Linked DNA regions of Homo sapiens: region 1 is linked to region 2. The links are contacts of gene promoters, found by promoter capture Hi-C in blood cells and fetal thymus (Javierre and others, 2016). All regions are on one chromosome and are shown on one strand. Each heading gives the region's core, a stretch centred on a gene start or on the middle of the fragment in contact. The rest is flanking DNA. Distances are from core to core; before and after follow the strand shown.

Region 1 (3,961 bases), core at 346-2,845, 1.2 Mb after region 2:
TTCTTCCACCTCCTCCCCTGCCCCCACCACCTCTGTCTTCCCTGAATCCACACTTCGGTAACTCACTCTTTGTGGCCCTCTCACATTTGTCAAAACGCGGGTAAATCACTTTTTTTTTCCCATGAGCCTCAGCTGCTCTTTGCCCTTGTCTTCTCTGGCACCTCCACTCCCCACACCATCCCCCACCTCAGGTTCTCAATTTTTTTTTTTTTGGCAGACTTTACAGATTTATTGTATAACATTTTCTGTGAAATGGTGTTGAACTACCCCAGCAGACTTCAAGAACAAGGAAAATCTTTGAAGGTGATTAATTTCATTGGTTGACATGTCAATGCAAATAAGAGAAATAATTATTTTAGCATGCTGGAACTAGGAAGATAAATCACTGAACACTTCTGATTTTTATCTTTAGACTACTCTACAGCATCACATAATAACATTGCCTTCAGTCAAGTCAAAAACCTGCTGTAATTTTAAAATAAGAAAAAAATAGAGAAATAGTATTTCTTCACCAAACTTGGACCTCACACCTCAACCAGGCAGCATATAACATTAATAGAAATCCCTTAAAGTGGAAGTCTTAAGGTGAAGTTATCCATAGGAAATATTTATTTAGAGCCAGTCAAAGGTCAAAATATAACATATAAAAATTAACTCAAGTGTTATTTTGGTAAAATCTGCCATATTCAGGGTAAGAGCCCTCTAGGCAAAGCAACGTTTTGTTAAATATCTATTTATTTCAGGGGCAGGGCGCAATGGCTCCCACCTGTAATCCCAGCACTTTGGGAGGCCGAGGTGGGCGAATCACCTGAGGTCAGGAGCTCAAGACCAGCCTGGCCAACATGGTGAAACCCTGTCTCTACTAAAAATACAAAAATTAGCCAGGCATGGTGGCGGGCAACTGTAATCTCAGCTACTCGAGAGGCTGAGGCACAAGAATCGCTTGAACCCGGGAGGTGGAGGGTGCAGTGAGCTGAGATCACCCCACTGCACTCGAGCCTGGGTGACAGAGCAAGACTCTGTCTCAAAAAAAAAAAAAAAAAAAAAAAAACAACTATTTCAGATTTTATGGATCCACACTATAAAAATACAGTTCATTTGGTTGATCTATGGGCAGTTCTTAGTTCTCTTCCTCAACCAGTGTTATCTAAAAATAGGTTCTTCCTTTTTCATTCTTTGCACCCCAGGATTTTGCCCATAGAGTTCTACATCAGACACCAGACATTGGTGAGTCACATATGCATAGGCACTTGTTACCCTTCAATCCAGGGCTTTACTTTAATGAGATGCTCCTATCTTAGCAAATTATAAATTATCTCTCCTGCTCCTCTTGCCCTCTCCTTACCCTTCCTCCCATCACATAGACATAAGAATTCTGTACTTTGCATAAATGAGTCATGATGGTTCTATTAATACATTTGAAGGGACATATGCCAACATTGCTTTAAGGAGGGATTAGTTTGCCCCATGATCGGTTGTAGTTTTCTTCAAAGCTTTGTCCCTGATAATAAAGAAATCCCACAAGGCAACTCAAATCCTATCTCATACCCATGAATCCCAAACACTTAAACCCACACTTTCAATTCCCTCTCTGAGTTCCTGTGAGGCTTAAAATCAGAATAATACATAGGTGTGTGTTTAATTGTTGTCTTTTCATTTATATTTATTTGGTCTCCCTAACAAGACCCATAAGCTTTGAGAACAGGAACCATGATTTAGATCAAATGAGATCATGAATATGTAAGCAAACAAAAAAGTATTCTGCTAATTTAAAATTTTGTTAGTTTTATGATTTCATATCTCATGTGATATGATTTTTCACGAGTCCATATCTCACATTCATACCTAATACTAAAATATAGCAGATGCTCAGTAAATACAAGCTGATCAATTTATGCTTTTTGAAACCTTCAATTGGCACCTAGCAGAGTTGAAATTGAATCAAATATCTTTCATATATGCTAACAGATAACAGTTATTCCAATAGTATAAAGAGAAAATATTAACAAACTCACTCATAGAAAATATGGTGCTGTGCAGATATGATCATGAGATTTAACAACATGAAAGCTGAAAAAGGGAAAAAAAAAATGCATGGTACCCTTTTTAGGTGAAGTCATTTTTGAAAAGAGAGACCTACTCTGATTTAGTAATTCAAAGCCTGAATCCATGAGTAGAACTTATCAGTGAATAGAAAATCCATCGTTATATTAGGGGACAAGGTTCACAGCAAATGTCTCCAGAATGACTGTAGCCTACTACCAAACACAAACTTTAGTGGAAATCAAGTGACTCTGTAAGTTAGCCTAGTCCATTCTAAGATAGGTGATGTCAACATGGTACATGACAAACAGCTTGGAATGGTTTAAAAATATAGTACATATCTAGTAGGAATAATTATAGGCTAGGAGTTCTGAAAAAGAAAAGAAAGGAAAAAGAAAAAAAATCAGTAAGGTTGATTATGGGCATTAACCTTAAACTAATTTAATGTTAATAAAATTCTTAACGAAAAGGCATAATGTTGAGTAGGCTTTCCTCTTTAACATACTTAGAAGTTATAATATCTGGAAAAAAACCATGAGATTAAAATGTTTCCAGTCTTCTCATTGCTCTAGAACAGGGCAAGTTTTCTTGAGTTGTAACCACTGATTGGTGGAATGTGAAAAATGGAAATCGTTGTTAATAATTTATGTGGATAACCCTGAAGAAATAGGCTTTAATCTCAGGGGGACTCTTAAAATTTTCTTTCTGGCAATTGTCACTTTACTAGAAACACAGACATTAAATAAATGAATGCACCAATAAATATGAAATATTCATTAATTAATTACTTATACTATAACTATTTATAAAAATGCCCTTGGATTGGCTCCTGATAAAAAATAATGGCAACAAAATAAGTAAAAAGTGACCTATATTGAAGTGGGACATGTGGTTAAACCAGAAGAACTAAGGATAGTTAGAAAATGCTGAGGTTTCTGGCAGCCAAGTGAGTGAATAAATCATATCAGTTTGTCAGGATTAGCAGTGTTACATAGCTATTAAACATTTTGGCAAAAGAAGAAAAAATCAAATTATTTGGTGCTATAAAGTGGGTTATTCTGGTGGTACAGGAGGAGTTTCTCATGTCCTTTTATCTAAAGGTATATATTCATAAGACTCAGGTAGATATTTATATTTCTATTTGCTGGATATGAACATATAGGCTGTGTTCTAATTTTATAACTCATCTTTTCCTGTTTTCCACTTTCCAACTTTAAGAGAGGATGGATCAGAAACCAGAATAATATTTACAAGTCAATCAGTCTCAAATAGTCTAGCCTTTGGCTGTGGGTAAATTCTCCCCAGCAAGTAACTATGTCTGGTCACTTCCAACATTCAGATCTGTTGGAAGGCATAAATGTTTTCTTTAGGTAAATGAATTTCTAATAAAGGGTCTTCACATTCCATAGGTCTGACCAGATCTGCTTGACAAGACTGTGGCTGATAATATGTGGCAAAGGCAACACTGCCCAATGCTAGCCAGAAATGGAGAAAACAAACAAGAAAGGTGAGCCAATGTGTCATCGTCGTGGCAGCACACTCAAAGACAAGGACAAGAGTAAGTGTTCATACTTATTTCAAAAGAATTCCCAATGAGCTATCTAAATTACTTGTTTTGCTGGATGTTACTTGACCGAAGATTGCATAAATGAGCTGTCACGATTGGGACCGGATGATATTTGTTGTAACAAGATTTAGCCTGCAGAGGGTTATGAAATCTGGACCTATTCTAGAAATTACATGGCCGGGCATGGTGGCTCATGCCTGTAATCCCAGCACTTTGGGACGCTGAGGAGGGCAGATCACGAGGTCAGGAGATCGAGACCATCCTGGCTAACACAGTGAAACCCCATCTCTACTAAAAATACAAAAAATTAGCCAGGCGAGGTGGCATGCACCTGTGGTCCCAGCTACTTGG
Region 2 (4,041 bases), core at 393-2,892:
AGGAAAAGAAGAGGAAAGAGTTCCCCAGGTTTCCCGGCAGACTCCCCTTGGGATAAGTAGACTAGAAATCTAACCAGCCTCTAGTACCAGATCTGGACTAGAGACTCACACAAAACGATCACCTTCCATCCCTCTGCACCAGAGTCCCAGCTGGGACTGGTTCTTGTCTGCCCTCCCCAAAGGAGAACCTTAAGTAAACAAGCCCCACAGTCCCCATCAGGGATTCAGATGGAACATTCTCACCTATTTTTACTTTTCTCTCCCGAGGTCTCCACTTTTCCATCTCTAGTCCTCACTCCTCTGCTTTTCTTAGGAAGTTCCTGAAAGTTACCACCATTAACCTCACTTTCCACATCAAATTCCCACCTCAAGCTGATGGCACAACCGGTTTCTGCGAGTGTCACCCTCTAACCAGCTGCTCGGTTTCCTGTGCTCTTCTCGGGGTCACACAGCCTGGCTTCTGTTCTCACCCTTCGGGCTCTGCCCCTCACCCCCATGCTCAGATGCACCCAAATAAAAGTGGATTGATCGGTTCCCTCTTTTCCCAAAGTTTTGGCATTTCTTGAGGAGCTACTGTGAAAGACGAAGGAACTGCGAATTACAAACATAATTTCATACCCTAGAAGATAGAGATGGCTACCTCGCTCCGGAGAAGAGAGCAGCAGGGCAGCCCCCTGTCCTCGCCAGAGACCACACTTCTTTCTGGGTGGGTGGGAGGCATCTTCATCACCATCCCGCCTCACATTCTTTTGTCCTTTCCCAACATCCCACACCAACAACCGTTCCCCAAACACTCCGGGGGGCCAGAAAAAGGGAGAAACAAAACTGAGGACAGGGAGGGGTATCTCGGAATCCCCTCCAAGCATAGTATTTTGTTCTCAAGTAGTAGGACTTTCCAGAATGTCTTCTCTCGTTCTGCTCCTTGCTGGCCCAGTTACCCCAAAGCCTCCCCACCCCCAAGCCCACTGCGACCAAAACAAGCGCACCGACCACAGCACTGTGGCCGCCGCCGCCCCAACTGTTGCAGCAGCTGCGGGGTGGCGGTAGAGGCGACGCGGGCAGGGCCGGACCCGGACCCCGACGCTCCTTGTCCAGGAGGCTGGGAGGCTCCAGTCGGCCGCCCTGGGGCGCGCGGTGCAGGAGAGTCCCTGCGGCAGCTGCCTGGGCTAGGAGAGGTGGCGCTCTCAGCCGGGACCCCAGCGCAGAGCCAGCCCGACCGCGGCCGCGGCGCTGGCGGAGTCTGCCCGCACCCGTCCCCTCTCACCTTTAAGATCAGGTCGGTGTGATGCTGGTCCAGCATGTTGGCTTTCTGGAAGGAGGTGACGATGACCCGGCCGTAGCGCCCGGGGGTCTGCAGGTCCGAGTAGAGACGGTGCTTGGAGCGGTTGACCGGGAAGAGGCTGTTAACGAGGTTGCGCTCGATCTTGGCCAGGCTGTGCTGGGGCGCCAGCAGGTGCTCCACGCTCTCCTCGACCTGGTAGCGGCTGAAGCTGGCGCCGAGCAGGATGGAGATGAGCACCGGCGCCGAGGCGAAGAAGACAGGGTGACTGGCAATGAAGTGGCCGAGCCGGGAGAAACACGTCCTCAAGCCCCTGTGCAGAACCTGCCGCAGCATCCTAGAGCAGAGCGGGCGCGGGAGGAGGGCGAGGCGCACGCTCGGCGCGGGTTCGGGCGGCGGCGGCGGCGGCGGCGGCGGCGGCGGCAGCGGCGCCCGCGGCGGCGGCGACGGCGGCGGCGGCGAGACCCTGAGCTCTCCCGGAGCCGCGGCACCACCATCGGGGAGTCCCGCGCCGCGCCTCGGGAGGGTCCCCTCGAGCCGGAGACACGCCCTCCTGCCCGCGGCCGCGCCCTCCCGGAGAGCCCCCCAGCTTGGCGGCCTCTGCGCCGCCCCCACTCCGCCCTACCGCGTGCGCCCTCCCCACCCCCCGCGGCCTCCCCGCCAGGGGGGCTCCGCGCCGCGCGGCCGCGTCCCCTCTCAGCGCGGGCGGGGCCCGGGGCAGCCCCCGCGGCTCGTCATGACCCCACTCACCCGACCCCCAAGGCCAACGACGGGGTGGCGCGGGGAGCGGCGACGGCGCTATCGCCAGGAGACTCTGCGCGCCCGCCCAGGAACACGAGGACGGAGAATTCCAGGCTACACCCAGTCCCCTCCCCTCCCTTCGCTCCCCTCCCCCGGTCCGGCCCGCCAAGCTCGCTCTCCCCTTCTCTGCCCTCCTCCGGGAAGACCCAGAGATAAATAAAGAAATGGCCCCGATTTTCCAAACAAAAAGTAAAGAGTTCTCAGGAGTGGGGGGAGGGGGCGGGTGTCGGGCGGACCCGCTCAGAGCCGAGTCTCTCCAGAGGCTTAAAGGAGCAGGCTGAAGACTGCGTGCGTCCCGGCTCTCGCCAGGCTCAGGTGGTGGCGCGCACTGGCTGGTGCCGAGAGGGGGTGGGGAGCGAAGACGCTCGAACGTGGAAATCACGCCTCCTTCCAAATAAGAACCGTTTAAAATACCCCCAACACTGCAGCTTCGGCGGGACCACGGGGTCCGGGTGTGTGTCTGGAGCACGTCCACTCAAAAGGTATCCGTGGAGAATCTTTCTCTGTGGCTCTAATTTAGGGTCGCTCCAGAGTGGATTGGGGCTGGCCAGCTCTGTTGCACACCCCCCAACCTCCCACCCAGTCCTTTAGTAATAAAAGTGCTGATAATGACGGTCAGTCGATGGAACTGTCCGTCGCCTGGGCTCCCGGGCTCCCGAGCTCCGGGGCTCCCCGGCTCCCGGTTCTTCGCCCTGCCTTCTCTTCCTCCTCCTCTCTCTGTCGTCACCAGCAGGTCTGGGGGACCTGGTGCGGCGTGGCTGGCGCGGGCGCCCCTGCGGGCGTAGAGTGTTTGAGAAAGGCTGGCCAGGGAGTCAGTAGCATTAACCCCCTTCTCTGCCTCACTCCGCCCTCTCCTCCCCTACATGCGAAGGTGTGAGAGTGGAGGGAACCTTATCTCAGAGCAGGAGAGATACAGGTCTCCGAGCGTGTTGAGCCGCAGGGGGCGCGGGGGAGCCCGCGGGGCGCCGACGGCTTGGCAAAGTTGGGCGTGTGCGTGTGCGCGCCAGCCGTGAGCTAGCAGGCAGTCACCGTGGTTCCCCTCGCACTCCCCCTCCGGAGAATTCCCCGAGAAGGCGGGCGCCGGCTTCGGCCCCGGGATAGACCTGCGGCGGCGGCGGGAACGGCCACGCACAGGTACAATTTAGCGCGTTTCATTTCGCGCTCCAAGCTCCTGGGTCTGTCCACTGCAACGCAGACCGAGCGGGATCTCGGAGTCTGGGTCACTGAGGCGCTCTCTCCAGCCAGGGGGGTGGGATACAGGGCGCGGCGAGGGGTCCTCAGACTCCGCGCTCTGAGCGCTCAGCCTCCCCATCCCAAGCCTTTGGTCGCTACAGCTCAGTCTCCCAGTGCCAGGGGTCGAACGGGAGGCGGTGGCCCGCACTACGGAGCATAGACATGCATATTAATCAAAGCTGAAGGAAGACGAATAGGGACAGGAAGAGGAAGGGGAGTGGGGGGGGGGGAAGAAAGAGGAGAATGGGTAGGAGAATGCGCCTCGGGGAGGCATTTCCCTAACGTTCCCATTCCAGACTCCCCTACACCTAGCGGCCCTTCACTTCTCAAACTGAACTTGGGAACTTGCACGTTGGAAACAGCAAGTCGCGGTTTGGGAAATCCTCCTTATTTGATGATCTCCTCCCTTCCCCCATACCGGACTTCCTTCCTACCTTTCCTCAGCAACACCTGCTCCTGCTGCGCTGCCCACCCCGGGGGCGCACCTGCCCTGCTCTGCTTGTGCTCCCTAGATCCTTCCACCCATTTCTCGTCCACTTTCTGTGCTCATCTTCGTTATTCCCTACACTGCTCTGTTTCCAGAGGCTCCCCGCGACGCCTAAGTCCAGCAGCTTCCAGCTGACTCCCCTCCCCCAGTATCGCCGTCCCTGGGAGGGACACATTGGAAGGGGCTAGAAATTCCCCTGCCACACTCCACTCGTGCCGTTCCCCCAGCATCTTAATTTCTG

What was found. Contacts are between HindIII fragments. The CHiCAGO score rates a contact against its expected background, and 5 or more counts as called.
Region 1: a contact is called between a fragment that was not itself captured here and the fragment with the promoter of PTCHD1 in region 2, in 1 of 17 cell types (endothelial precursors). The highest score is 5.5, in endothelial precursors.

Annotation. Positions count from the first base shown.
Region 1 is chrX:22,123,955-22,127,915 of GRCh38, reverse strand. All of the region lies in intron 11 of PHEX (phosphate regulating endopeptidase X-linked), which reads right to left. Among named protein-coding and RNA genes, the nearest start is that of PHEX-AS1, 47 kb to the left of the region's middle. The HindIII fragment of the contact is 200 bases long and covers 1,496-1,695 here.
Region 2 is chrX:23,332,450-23,336,490 of GRCh38, reverse strand. It overlaps PTCHD1 (patched domain containing 1), which reads right to left and starts at 1,642. Exons shown (of 3, transcript NM_173495.3): 1 at 1,265-1,642. The coding sequence starts at 1,615. The HindIII fragment of the contact is 10,599 bases long and covers 1-4,041 here.